Linked DNA regions of Homo sapiens: all the other regions are linked to region 2. Evidence: promoter capture Hi-C in 16 types of primary human blood cells and fetal thymus (Javierre and others, 2016). All regions are on one chromosome and are shown on one strand. The core of a region is centred on a gene start or on the middle of the fragment in contact, and the rest is flanking DNA. Distances in the headings are between cores, read along the strand shown.

Evidence for each region. Contacts are between HindIII fragments. The CHiCAGO score rates a contact against its expected background, and 5 or more counts as called.
Region 1: a fragment that was not itself captured here is called in contact with the fragment with the promoter of DYNC1I2 in region 2 in 2 of 17 cell types (naive CD4 T cells and naive CD8 T cells); the score reaches 5.9 in naive CD4 T cells.
Region 3: a fragment that was not itself captured here is called in contact with the fragment with the promoter of DYNC1I2 in region 2 in 3 of 17 cell types (naive CD4 T cells, total CD4 T cells and non-activated CD4 T cells); the score reaches 6.5 in naive CD4 T cells.

Annotation. Positions count from the first base shown.
Region 1 is chr2:172,716,700-172,721,145 of GRCh38, reverse strand. It overlaps a transcript of PDK1 not described here. Among named protein-coding and RNA genes, the nearest start is that of RAPGEF4, 17 kb to the left of the region's middle. The HindIII fragment of the contact is 6,831 bases long and covers 1-4,446 here.
Region 2 is chr2:171,684,953-171,689,037 of GRCh38, reverse strand. It overlaps DYNC1I2 (dynein cytoplasmic 1 intermediate chain 2), which reads right to left and starts at 1,569. Exons shown (of 18, transcript NM_001378.3): 1 at 1,411-1,569. RefSeq lists an enhancer at 1,399-1,568. The HindIII fragment of the contact is 4,493 bases long and covers 1-1,721 here.
Region 3 is chr2:172,685,413-172,689,924 of GRCh38, reverse strand. It overlaps a transcript of PDK1 not described here. Among named protein-coding and RNA genes, the nearest start is that of RAPGEF4, 48 kb to the left of the region's middle. The HindIII fragment of the contact is 1,715 bases long and covers 1,149-2,863 here.

The DNA.
Region 1 (4,446 bases), core at 909-3,408, 1.0 Mb before region 2:
CTCACCTTCGGCAGAACACAGGAAGAAGAGATGCCGGTTGCCATCAAACAAGTAGGAAGGATTTGCTAAAATTTCTAACAAATTGCAGAAGTCTGACTGTGAACTAGTGTGACAGTACAGGTTTGTCTGGGAGCCACAGACAGAGAAGCAGTTCACACTTACAAGATCGTCTTCACAGATTTCCATTTGGTGCTCATGAGAAAGACTGGGTGAGGGTGGGGGACCAGAGGGAGTCTTCCTTGGTGGTGCAGGCCTGGAGGAGGGGAGTGCAGTTGCTGAAGGAAAGTCACAAAGCCCTCCTTAGATGCTTTCTCAAGGAACAAAAGCCTCTAGCCTTGGGGGAAGAACCAGAAACTTCATATCTCCAAGACTAGATGAAAACCCATTACAGCTAGAGAAAGAGAAAACAAAACAAAACAAAACAAAACCTTGTCATTATTGGAAGAGCAAGGAACAGTCCTGGGCTCAGGATCCTACACCATTACTAATAGAAGTCTCCTACTACTGGGCAGGTACAGGGAAGTCCCATAGAAGATTTGCCAAAGATGCAAGGCAGTTTGGCTGCCTTGAAAAGGAGAAGTAGGATCACACAGGAACAAAACAACTGAGCTTGCAATACTGGGTAACAAGCAATAGCAGTCCATTCCTTGGGAAGATAGATCCCTTTTGTGGTGCTACAACACAGGAAAGGCTGAAAGCTGGGGGTAGAGCAGCAACATTGAGAAAATCTCAGCCAGGTGCAGTAGCTCACGCCTGTAAACCCAGAACTTTGGGAGGCCGAGGTGGGCGGATTACTTGAAGTCGGGAATTCAAGACTAGCCTGGCCAACACGGTGAAACCTCGCCTCTACTAAAAATACAAAAATTAGCCCAGTTTGGTGGCGCATGCCTGTAATCCCAGCTATCGGGGAGGCTGAGGCATGAGAATCACTTGAATCCAGGAGGCAGAGGTTGCAGTGAGCTGAGATTGTACCACTGCACACCAGCCTGGGGGACAAAGCAAGACTCTGTCTCAAAAAAAAAAAAAAAAGAGAGAGAGAGAGAGAGAGAAAAGCTCTTTGACACCCAAGCAGCAACAAAACCTGCTCAACTGCTAACTAGATAAACTCAACCCCTATACAAATAGCCTAGCAGAAGAAGAGACATGCTCATTTCCAATCATATATATTGTTTGTTTCAGCCTCTGCTGTCCTGCAAACAATGTCTGGTATTCAGTCAAAAATAATAAGACAATAAGATAGGTAAAGTAACCCACTGTCCTGAGATGAAGTGATCAACAGAACAAAACTCAGAGATGATTCAGATGCTGGAACTATCACACAAGCCATTTGAAATAACCATTAGTAATATGTTAAAGGCTCTAAATGGAGAAGGCAGACAATGTGCATGAACCAATATGGAATTTCAGCAGAGAGATGAAAACTGTAAGAAAACATATATTGGAAACTGGAAATAAACATATATTGGAAACTGGAAATAAACATATATTGGAAACATATATTGGAAATAAACATATATTGGAAACTGGAAATAAACATATATTGGAAACTGGAAATAAAGCAAGATGGGAACAAAGATAAACAAAGATTTCTTATGTATGACACCAAATAAAAACCCACTGAGACATCACTACATACCTAACAGAATGTTTAAACTTAAAAAGACCAGCTGAACCACATGATGACCAGGATGTGGAGCACTGGAACCATCATACATTGCTAATGAAAATATGAAATAATACAGCCACTTCAGAATATAGTTGGTAAGTTTTTTTTAATAAAGCTAAACATACAGTATGATCTAGCTATCCTCTCTTAACCATTTACCAAAGAGAAATAAAAACCTATTTTCAACCAAAAACCTGTACACGACTATTTATAGTGACTATTCATAACCTCCAAATGCTGGAAACAACCCAATTGTCTTTCAGCTGGTGAATGGATAAAGTGTAGTACATCTATGCAATGGAGTACTACTCAGCAGTAAAAGCATGAACTGCTGTCACATGCAGCAACGTGGATAAATCTCTAATGTATTATGCTAAATAAGAGGAAAAAGACTAGAGGAGCTATATAATGATCTAATTTTTAGTACCTTCTAGAAAAGGCCAGATTATAAAGACAGTAAATAGATCAGAGCTTGCTAAGAACTGGGGTAGAGGTTTTGACTAAAAAAAACCAATTTTGGGGGTGATGGAACTGTTCAATATCTTGAATGTAGTGGTAGTTGTACAACTTTATGCTTTTGTCCAAACTCATAGAACTGTACATTTAGAAAGGTGATTTTTAAAATATATAAACATATACTTCACAAAAATAATAAGTAAACACATAAAAAGATAAATAAAGACAGGGACTCTGGCTTCCTGACTTTTTCAATCCTCTATTATATTGCCTTACAAGAAGATGATGCTTATGGTCTATTGTATTTTGGCCCAGAACATCCCCTACCCTTTCCTAGGGCCTTCCCCATGAGACCTTGCCTTATCACCCCAAACGGAATCACTCCAGAAAATACAAACTCACTCAACATATTCTGTTTGCTAAAACAAATTCTATAAGCCTACAATATACTACATCACATTTGATTTAAAGTGTATTTAACATCAAAGACAAATTACTCTGAATGCTATATTAAAAGAACTAACTTTTTCTAAAATATATCTTACAGATCTCAATTTTTGTGAGCCACATCTAATCAATCTCTGATCATTTCAATAACATGCATATTTTTATATCTACATGAAAATGAAAATTGTAACAAAATATGGTTTCATTTTTTATGGAAGTTTTTTACTTTGCCTTCCTTTCATAATTTTGGATTTCCCCAGTTTAGGATGCTAAAGGGCAGTGAGAACATCTCTTCATTTCACTAGCTTCATTATTTCCTTCCATGAGTGTGGAATTTTACCTGTCTCAAACTAACCTGTTACCTAAAACTAAAGGCTGATTTCTCTTTTTAGAAAATACCATTTCAAATGGAATTTTTATGATTACAAATTTTACATTCTTATATTCAAATTTTTCAGCAAATTACATTCCATGTGACAAATTCCTGGTTTCTTCTACTTTTCCATTATGAATCATCTCAAAAAAAGATCAGCAGATTTCATTTACCCTTCCCCAGGAAAAGCAGGACATTCCTCTCTTCAATCTGGTAGCTCTCAGCTCTATTGGAATAACACCCTTTTTATAAAACAAATGTTTTGTAATGTTTCCTTTGCTATCTTAAAATGAAGTGTCTTACACATTACCGGATGTCTAACACCCTTAGCTCCCACCTACTAGAGGCCAGTGAGCTCCATTAATCATTTTGACAACCAAAAAAAGCCCCTCACATAGCTCTAGGTTGTCCTTGGGTAGGAGGAGAGTGGAAACACCACCATCAAGAACTACCAATTTAGGGCATATTTCCTTAATGGCAAAGCAATGTTCTACTTCAAAATACTAATAGGCTTGGAATAAAGAACAATTTATTCGGGAGGTGAGGCAGGAGAATCGCTTGAACCCAGGAGGCAGTGAGCCGACATTACGCCACTGCACTCCAGCCTGGGCAACAGAGCAAGACTCTGTCTCAAAAAAAGAAAATTAGTCCAACTTAATCAGGTATTTTAGTAACAAGTATTTTAGCCAAGGATATAGTTTAAGTAACAGGTTTAATAGGAAGCGTAGTAACTAAAGGTAGTTTATTAGTTTATCTGTTATTACACAACCAATTACCCCAACATTTAGCAGTTTAAAACAACAAGCGTTTATTATTTCACTGTTTCTGAGGGTCAGGAATCTGGAAGCAGTTTAGCCCGGTTGTTCTGGCTCGAGGTCATCCATGAGGTTTCAGTCAAGCCAGGCTGCAGCCATCTCAAGATCCATCTGGAGCTTGAGGCTCTGCTTCACTCACATGCACACAGGTTTAGTTCAGCCATACATGGGTCTCTCACAACATGGTTTCCCCTAGAGTGAGCAATGAGAGAAAAGCCGTAAGCAGTTCTTTGATAATGTAGTCTTGGATGTGAGATACCATCATTTCTGCCATATTCCATTGGCCAACCCTGGTACAATGTAGGAGGGACTCCACAGGCTGTGAATAACAGGAAGTGCAGATCACTGGGTGCCATCTTGGAGGCTGTTTACCCCAGGTAGGAATCTCTACATCTCTAAATAAATACGAGTACTCCAATCCACACTCAGGTTTTAATTTTATTGGACTGTAAGGGATTACTTCACAGAACTGAGAGAAACAGAAAACATTGATGAAGTTTTGTTCCAATTAAATAGAAACTGTTTCTTAGCAACATGAAAATATCATTTTAGTGATCTGAGGCTCAGAATCACAGTTTTTCAATGTCTATTTTTACCTCTGTATTTTAGATTTATTCAACTGCTGAATGTGAATAAAATTCCATTTAGCAATATCACAGGTAGAAGTAAATCTGAAAAACAGAATATTT
Region 2 (4,085 bases), core at 320-2,819:
AAGAAATAATGAATTAGGATTTTTTTTTTTTAAGTAGCCTAGCAGCTGAGCATAAGGCAGGAGCCAGGAACTCCTTACCTTCTCCACATGATTGACTTATTGCCTAATGATCAATCTCTTTCAATGTCTCTGTACAAGTGAAGTATTAAATGCTTTAGATCAAGAAAACTAGGAGAATAACCTCTGGAAAACTGTATTTCCAGAGGTTAGGGGAAATCTCTTAAAAAGCACAATTGTTAAATCTGAACAAAGGTAAGTCAGTCAAGAGGAGAAATTCACCTACTAAGAAGTGGATAAAGGAAATTTCAGCTACTAAACTCCATTAAGACTGGCAAGCGAATTGATAATTTTCAAGCATACGAAAAGGATGAAAAGTTGACATAGCAGACCTGAAATATATACACAATATCTTCCAAGATTTGTTTGAACAAACTAAAAGCAAGAGACCGTGTTTCTTATTCCACTCTTTCTACACCTCTAAACAGCTCCATACAAACGGCTGGTGAAGAGAACTTCCATACGTAACTGTATGCTACGCTAGGCACATTATATTTTGTTCAACGTCAACTGTAAAACAGATATACCAACACTAATTGATATTAAAATAAGCGCATTTTTAAAGCCCAACAACAAAGTCTTGACCAGCTGAACTACAGCTGACCAATCCTCTCATCCTCACAGAAGCCAGAGCCTTCCTCCATGACCGACATGTTCACGTTCTTAAAACTCAAGAGAAGAGAGTCTCTAGAGTTTTGTGCTAGAACCTCCGTGTTCGGGGGCTTTCCATCACACATAAGGTGAGGGGAGACACTATCAAGGCAAGTAGAGATGGCCTTAATTTGTAAAATGGGGCAAGGCGAAAACGAATCACTTTCTCCCCTGGGGTCACGGCCAAGAGGGCGCGGTCCACGGCAGGGCGTCCGGAAGAAGCCAGTGGGCGCCGGACAAGCCTCAAGGCTCCCCAGGCCGCCTCTGGAGGGTCGAGAAGGGAAAGGAGTGGACTCCTCTCGCCGGGCCGCAATGAGTCACCGCACCCAGGTCTCCCCGCCTTTCCTCCCCAAAGCTGGGCCGGGCGGGGATGTCAGCAGGAACTGCCAAGCCGCCCTTCGAGTTGCGACGTGGAACACAGGCAGGGAGGCCTTGAGGGAAGAACAGTCAACCCACCTGTCAGGTGACTGGATGGGGAAGAGTCCTCCCGCCTGCAACTTCCCGGTAACGTCCCTCGCCTAAGCCCCCAACACCAACTGTAGCCACCACCAGCTCCGCGGCTTTCCAAAGCACACAAAGAGGGATGGGCGGCGGCTGCTACGGCGAGAGCTTAGGGACAAATAGCCTCACCAGAACGAGGTCGCTCCCAGAAATAAAAGGTGGGGCCCTGCTGCGAGGAATTGTAGCCCCTCCGTGACTTACCTGTCGTAAAGCAGAAGCCGGTAGATAAAACAAAGAACCCAGTCAACCCAGGGGCCTTAAGTATTTCCGCTTTGCCAAAAACTGGAAAACTACGCCTAATATTCTCAGGCCAGGAATCCAACTTCCGCCCTCGCCTTACAAACTGACACGATCGAGAAGAACTACAAACCCCGGCAACAAGGAAAACCTGCGTGCGACGAGCAGTGCGTTCTGGGAATTGTGGTCGCTGGGCGTCGCAAGGTGTGCTGGGACATGTAGTGTGTCCCCTCCTTTAGATTTCCCACTCCAAGGCCTTCTTCCGTCGAGAAGCTTCTGTATAAAGTATTCTCGTCTGTTGATCCGTGCCCACAGTGTAGTATGTGTTATAGTGTAAGATCTTTGACCCAATATTGGCGGAATTTTAAGGTCTATTTTCCAGTGGTGAACCTGTGAATCACGCTGCTGCACATTTGGTGAAGACGTGAAGTAGACTGTTTAGGATGTAAAACATTATATATATATATGTACATACATATGTAAGTTTTAGGGAAAGAATGTCTTATATAGGCTTCATGTGGCATCTTAGGCAAAATCTAAATAAAAATATGTCAACTGACATAGCAAATAATTCTTTAGTATTTTGTTGCAGTGTGGTAGCATTTTGGTTTTCTCTCAAACAATTTTAGGAAATAAAGCATTTTGTATTATTGGACTCTCAAACCAAGCTAGAATGTTTTCCACAGTTAGATTTTTAACATACAAAGAAAACAAAAGTTACTGGAACATGAATTTACCTGCAATGTATACATTGACACACCTTTTTAAAGTTTAAATAATTTAAAGCATTATTTGGCAGGAGTTAAAGCTAACACCAAGGTAATATCTTTTCTATGTTCTAGAAAACTGATTGTTCTAGAAGTTCTAGATATTGCCCAAGTCTAGAATGAACCTTTATGATTCAAATTCCAAGTCCTTGGGCTTGTGGTCTTTTTCTTATCTTTCTCTGCCTTATCTGTGGTCTTTTGTGTAGAAAAAAATATTCTAAAAATAAATTTGAGAAAGAAAATCCTTGGCTTTCCACAGCTTTTCCCAATAACCTAACATTCAAAGAGCTTTATAGCTATGTTATTTTTTTACTTCTTTCCTAATAGTTTTCATGTATTAATTTGAAAAAAAATTATTATTGATTGCCTACCATGTGCCAGCAATGGTGATGGGTGTTGTGGTAACAGCTAAAATGGACCAGGCGCAGTGGCTCACACCTGTAATCCCAGCACTTTGGGAGGCCGAGGCAGGCAGATCACCTGAGCTCAGGACTTAGAGACCAGCCTGGGCAACATGGTGAAACCCCGTCTCTACAAAAAATAGAAAAATTAGCAGGGTGTGTGGCATGCGCCTGTAGTCCTAGCTAGTCACGAGGCTGAGGCAGGAGGATGGCTTGCGCCCAGGAGGCGGAGGTTATAGTGAGCTGAGATTACACAATTGCATTCCAGCCTGGGAGACAGAGCAAGACCCTGCCTCAAAAAAAAAAAAAAGAAAAAGAAACAAAAAAAACAAAAAACATAAAAATGCACAAAAATGCACATCCTTCTTCTCAAGGGAGAAAGGACACTCGCTCAACTAAGAATGGATGGTTCCTGACTGATGGTTTAACTTATGATTTTTTTCTCATTACAATGGGCTTATTAGAGTAAAATGCATTTTCAACATATATTTTTGACTTAAAATGGGTTTATCAGGACATAACTCAAGGAGCATCTGTATAATGATGGAATTATATAAGGAAGTCATAGAAACACCTGGAAAAACTTTTCAGGAAACTTTTGGAAGGAGGTGATTCTAGAGCTAAGTCTTTGATTCTCAAAGGTTGAGTAGAAGAAGTTAGCCAAGCAGAGAAGATGCAGAAAGGTGCCTTGGGAAGAGAAAAGAATATGGACAAAGGACAGAGGTGTGAGAGCATAGAATGCTGGTGAATTTGGAAATAATTCACAATGGCCGTAGGCTAAGACAGGAACTGGGGAATGAAGCCATAAGCAGGGGCAAAGTCGCACATCCCAGTTTAGATTTAGTCCTACAGATGATGTGAATCCACTGGTAGATTTTAAGAGGGTGCAAGGTATGAGAAGGTTTGCATTTTAGATGACTGGCCTTTCAAAGTAGTCCGGAGAAAGACTAATGTGCTGGTTATTTTCTTTGCCCCCCAGATTCATTTCCTGCCCTTCTTTGCTAAGCTCTATGCCTCTGAGGGTTGACCTCAGTTTCTTTAAGGACTGCTTTGTGGTTGGACATAAAGAAGGCCAAGGCAAGGATATCAGAAGGTGGGTAGAAAGGGAAATTGGGGCATCTCTTCCTTGCTCCTTCCTTCTTTGAGTGTCAGATGTCCAGCAATAGCTTCATTCCTTCATGACTACAGTACCTGCCAGATGGCTCTTTCACCATGGCTCTAGTTTTCCCCGGGCTGTCTGGTGATTTTATGTTCTCCTTTTATCTCTTGAACACCTCCTCTGTAGCTAGTCTCTGAGTGCCTCATCATCTCGTTTGTTCCCTTAATACCCGCTCACCCCTCTGTAACTTGTCCTTTCATTAAAGTATTTTCATGTGAACTATCTTGTGAATTCTGTTTCTTGTTGAGACCCTTGTTGATACAGCTTGCCTAGAGGGATGAGAGGTGGAGAAAGAGGTAAGGTAGAGACTGG
Region 3 (4,512 bases), core at 757-3,256, 1.0 Mb before region 2:
GAATGGTATTGTCCAGGTTTTCTTCTAGGGTTTTTATGGTTTTAGGTCTAACATTTAAGTCTTTAATCCATCTTGAATTAATTTTTATATAAGTTGTAAGGAAGGGATCCAGTTTCAGCTTTCTACATATGGCTAGCCAGTTTTCCCAGCACCATTTATGAAGTAGAGAATCTTTTGCCCATTTCTTGTTTTTGTCAGGTTTGTCAAAGATCAGAGGGTTGTAGATGTGTGGTATTTTTTCTGAGGCCTCTGTTCTGTTCCATTGGTCTATATCTCTGTTTTGGTACCAGTACCATGCTGTTTTGGTTACTGTGGCCTTGTAGTGTAGTTTGAAATCAGGTAGCATGATCCCTCCAGCTTTGTTCTTTTTGCTTAGGATTGTCTTGGCACTGCAAGGTCTTTTTTGTTTCCATATGAACTTTAAAGTAGTTTTTTCCAATTCTGTGAAGAAAGTCATTGGTAGCTTGATAGGGATGGCATTAAATCTATAAATTACTTTGGGCAATATGGCCATTTTCACGATATTGAGTCTTCCTATCCATGAGCATGGAATATTCTTCCATTTGTTTGTGTCCTGTTTTATTTCCTTGAGCAGTGGTTTGTAGTTCTCCTTGAAGAGGGGACTTGGAGAACTTTTCTTACAAGAGGTTTGTAAAATGCTCCAATCAGTGCTCTGTAAAAATGCACCAATCGGTGCTCTGTAGCTAGCTAGAGGTTTGTAAAATGGACCAATCAGCACACTGTAAAATGGACCAATCGGCACTCTGTAAAATGGACCAATCAGCGCTCTGTAAAATGGACCAATCAGCAGGACATGGGTGGGGACAAATACAGGAATAAAAGCTGGCCACTCTAGCCAGCAGTGGCAACACACTCGGGTCCCTTTCCATGCTGTGGAAGCTTTGTTCTGTCACTCTTCAAAATAAATCTTGCTGCTGCTCACTCTTTGGGTCCGGGCCACCTTTAAGAGCTGTAACACTCACCATGAAGGTCTGTGGCTTCGTTCTTGAAGTCAGCGAGACCATGAACCCACTGGAAGGAACCAACTCTGGACACACCTTCAGCAGAAGATGCTGTGGGGAAGATAGTTGACTGACAGCCTCTGGCTGCCATGTGGGATTCAACAGTGTTCACACTGAGGTCAAGCTTACTCTGGGTTGCACTCAGCCAGTGAATGGCCTAGGTACAGGTGCTAGGGGGAGTGCACTGAGGCTAATTTTCTCCCTATCTTCCTTCCTTCTCTCCTTTCCCAGATATTAGACCTGCAAATGGTCTAAAGACTCTTCTGCCTCTTCCTGCTCCCTCCTCCTTTATCCTTTATAGGCATTTTGAATGCCTCTTGCATATCAAATCCCACGTTGGGGTCTGCTCCTTAGAGGATGCAAACTAACACAAGTGCTACCAAGAGTGGTCCAAGACAACAGTCAGTAAGATGGGGCTTGGGACTGGTTCACACACCACCCAGCTGGCAAGGAGAACACAGTCATGAGGGAAACATCAGGCACAATAATCCCTGGCACAAGGTAGTTAACCTAATTGCTAAGGATTTCAACATTGGTGCTCTGGGATCCCACACAAAGAGCATCTGACCAGGGCTCTTACTACACAGTGCAGGAGGTATGGGAGTGGGATCACACACATCCATCCATACATATCACATACTTCTGGCACAATCCAGAAGGAGCTGCTTCACAAAAGACTGCAACAGCCTACTGAAGGATTAGCTGGAATGCTCAGAGGTCATACTCTGCAAGGATAGGTGCTATCCTGTCCTACATGTTTTAAATAGAGAACTCTATGGCAGTGTGTCCTCTCAAGGAAAAATATATGTGTCTGGAAACCAAGGGTGAAAGCAAAAGTAGTCCCAATTGCCATCATTCTTAATTGACCCACTGTGGGATTATGTGCTTCTTGTCCCCACAATTCTGGACTTTGCAGGGTAGGAGGTCCTTGCTCCCAAAAGGGGATCCCTGTGCAGGGGGACTTGGTAAGGCTTCCACTGAACTGCAATCTATGGCTGCTGCCACCTCACTTGGAAGTCTTTGTGTTCAGTGGGCAGCAGGCAAGAAGAGGAGTCCCCATCTTGTCGGGGCAATTGACTCCCATTAGCAAGAGAAGGTCAGGCTGATTTTACACAATGCAGGCAGAGAGGAATATGTGTGAACCCAAATGATCCACCTGGACACCTCCTGCTATTCTCTTGCCCAGCTGTAACTGTGGACATTTATAGCAACCCCAGCCTGAGAAAGATATGATAAACCAAGCGCTCAGACCCCTCGGAATGAAGGTTTGGGAAACACCACCATGTAATCCACCATGCCTTGATGAGGTGATAGCTGAAGTTGGGGGGTAGGGATTTAGAATGGATAATGGGGAAAAAGAGGATGAGTATGAAGTGTGACCCTGAGACCAATTACAGAAACAGGAGCTATAGTTCATCCTTCTAACTTCCCTCTTCTAATATTCCCAGGAAAACTTGGAGGATGCCCTAAAAATGTAAAAAGATAGGACACATATTCAGAGAAGGATTTGTGATGCATTTAACAACAAAGGAGTATAATCCAGAATATGTTTTTTTAAAAAAAAAAACTTCTTAAATAAATAAATGATAATTTCATAGGAAAATGAGGAAAGACAGGAATTAGTATTTTACAGAGAAGAAACAATATAGACAATAAACATATAAAAAGATATTCAACCTCATTAGTAATTGGCCTGATTCCAATTAAAATCAAATAAAATATATTTGGGAAGGAGGCAGGAAATAGAGTTCATTAAATTGTATGTTTCTCTTTACAACTTCTACATATTACTATATAATATATTGTTAGTTTACATGGGTATTATTGTTTCAAAACAAGCTTAAATACTTCTTATGAATGAGCTCAACCATACAAAAAGTGCTTATATTCCTAAAAATTGTTATATAAAACAGTAGTGCATATGTTATTCTCTTCCTAAAAAATTAGGTGTGATTTTTAAAGATGATATCAAAGACAGATGGTATGTGATTAAGTTCATTTTAGTTGTCTAATAATAGTAATCTTATTTGGATCATGATAGATAGCAGATAGGTAGATATATAGATAGATAGACACATAAATGGATTTAGATCAAGATGTGTCCGGAGTTGGTTCTTTCTGGTGTGTTCCTGGTCTCACCGACTTCAAGAATGAAGCTGCAGACCTTTGCAGTGAATGTTACAGCTCTTAAAGGTGGCACAGCTGATTTATTGTGAGCAGCAGACAGTGAGCAGCAGCAAGATTTATTGTGAAGAGCAAAAGAACAAAGCTTCCACAGCGTAAAAAGTGGCCCAAGCAGGTTGCTGCTGCAGGCTGGGGTGGCCAGCTTTTATTCCCTTATTTGTCCCCGCCCATGTCCTGCTGATTGGTCCATTTTACAGAGTGCTGATTGGTCCATTTTACAGAGCACTGATTGGTCCATTTTACAGTGTGCTGATTGGTCCATTTTACAAACCTCCAGCTAGCTACAGAGCGCTAATTGGTGTTTTTACAGAGCACTGATTGGTGCATTTTACAAACCTCTAGCTAGTTACAAAGCGCCGATTGGTGCATTTTTACAGAGCACTGATTGGTGCATTTTACAAACCTCTTGTAAGAAAAGTTCTCCAAGTCCCCGCCTTGACCCAGGAAATCCAGCTGGCTTCACTTCTCAAAGGGAGATCTTAGCAGTGTATCTCTATGGCTGCCACAGGTGCTGGGCTGTGTTTCTAGGGCCACGATTCCTGTTGATATCCTTTGAGAGACTTTACTAAAGAGTGAAATTCCTTTTTTATGATATTTTGGCCTACTTAGACTCTGTTTCTTTAAATGAAATAGCACTTCAGTGGTGAAACTACATCATACAAGTCTTCAGTGGTTAAATTTAAATATCCAGCACTTAACACAGCTCCTGGAATTTTGTAGAAACCCTGTAAATTTTGTTTGAGGTTGATTTCTCAGGAGCATAGGATGTATGTTGAACAAAATTGGAAATGTGAATGCAAAACAGGAATTTAAACTGGATTTCACAGGCATTGGAGACAACGAAGATTTTTTTGAGCAGCAATACGATGCTGAAAATAGCCACGTGCAGCTGTCTGTTCAGCATCGAATGAGGTGGTATGGAATTTTGGAGGTAATTTGATAGAAACAAAAAGTCACCTAAGATCATTAGAACCCCAAAGTGCTGATTTATCATGAACAATACAACATGTATCGGGTGCATTTATCAGGTTCTGTTCTGTGCTAAGTGCTGATTTGGCATATTTGCAATGATCAATTATAGTATGCAATGCTAAACACTCACATTTTATTAATGTGGTATCTTATTGTTTAACTTAGCAAATCCCAGTGAGGAAAATAATAATTTTCATTTTACAAATGAGGAAAATGAGGCTTAGAATATTTATGTGACTTACCCAAAGTGAGGCTGTGTCTTAGTCTACTGGTTTATTCACTCATTCAGCAAATGATATTTCTTTGTGCACAGCTGGTGAAGTATGTAGAAATC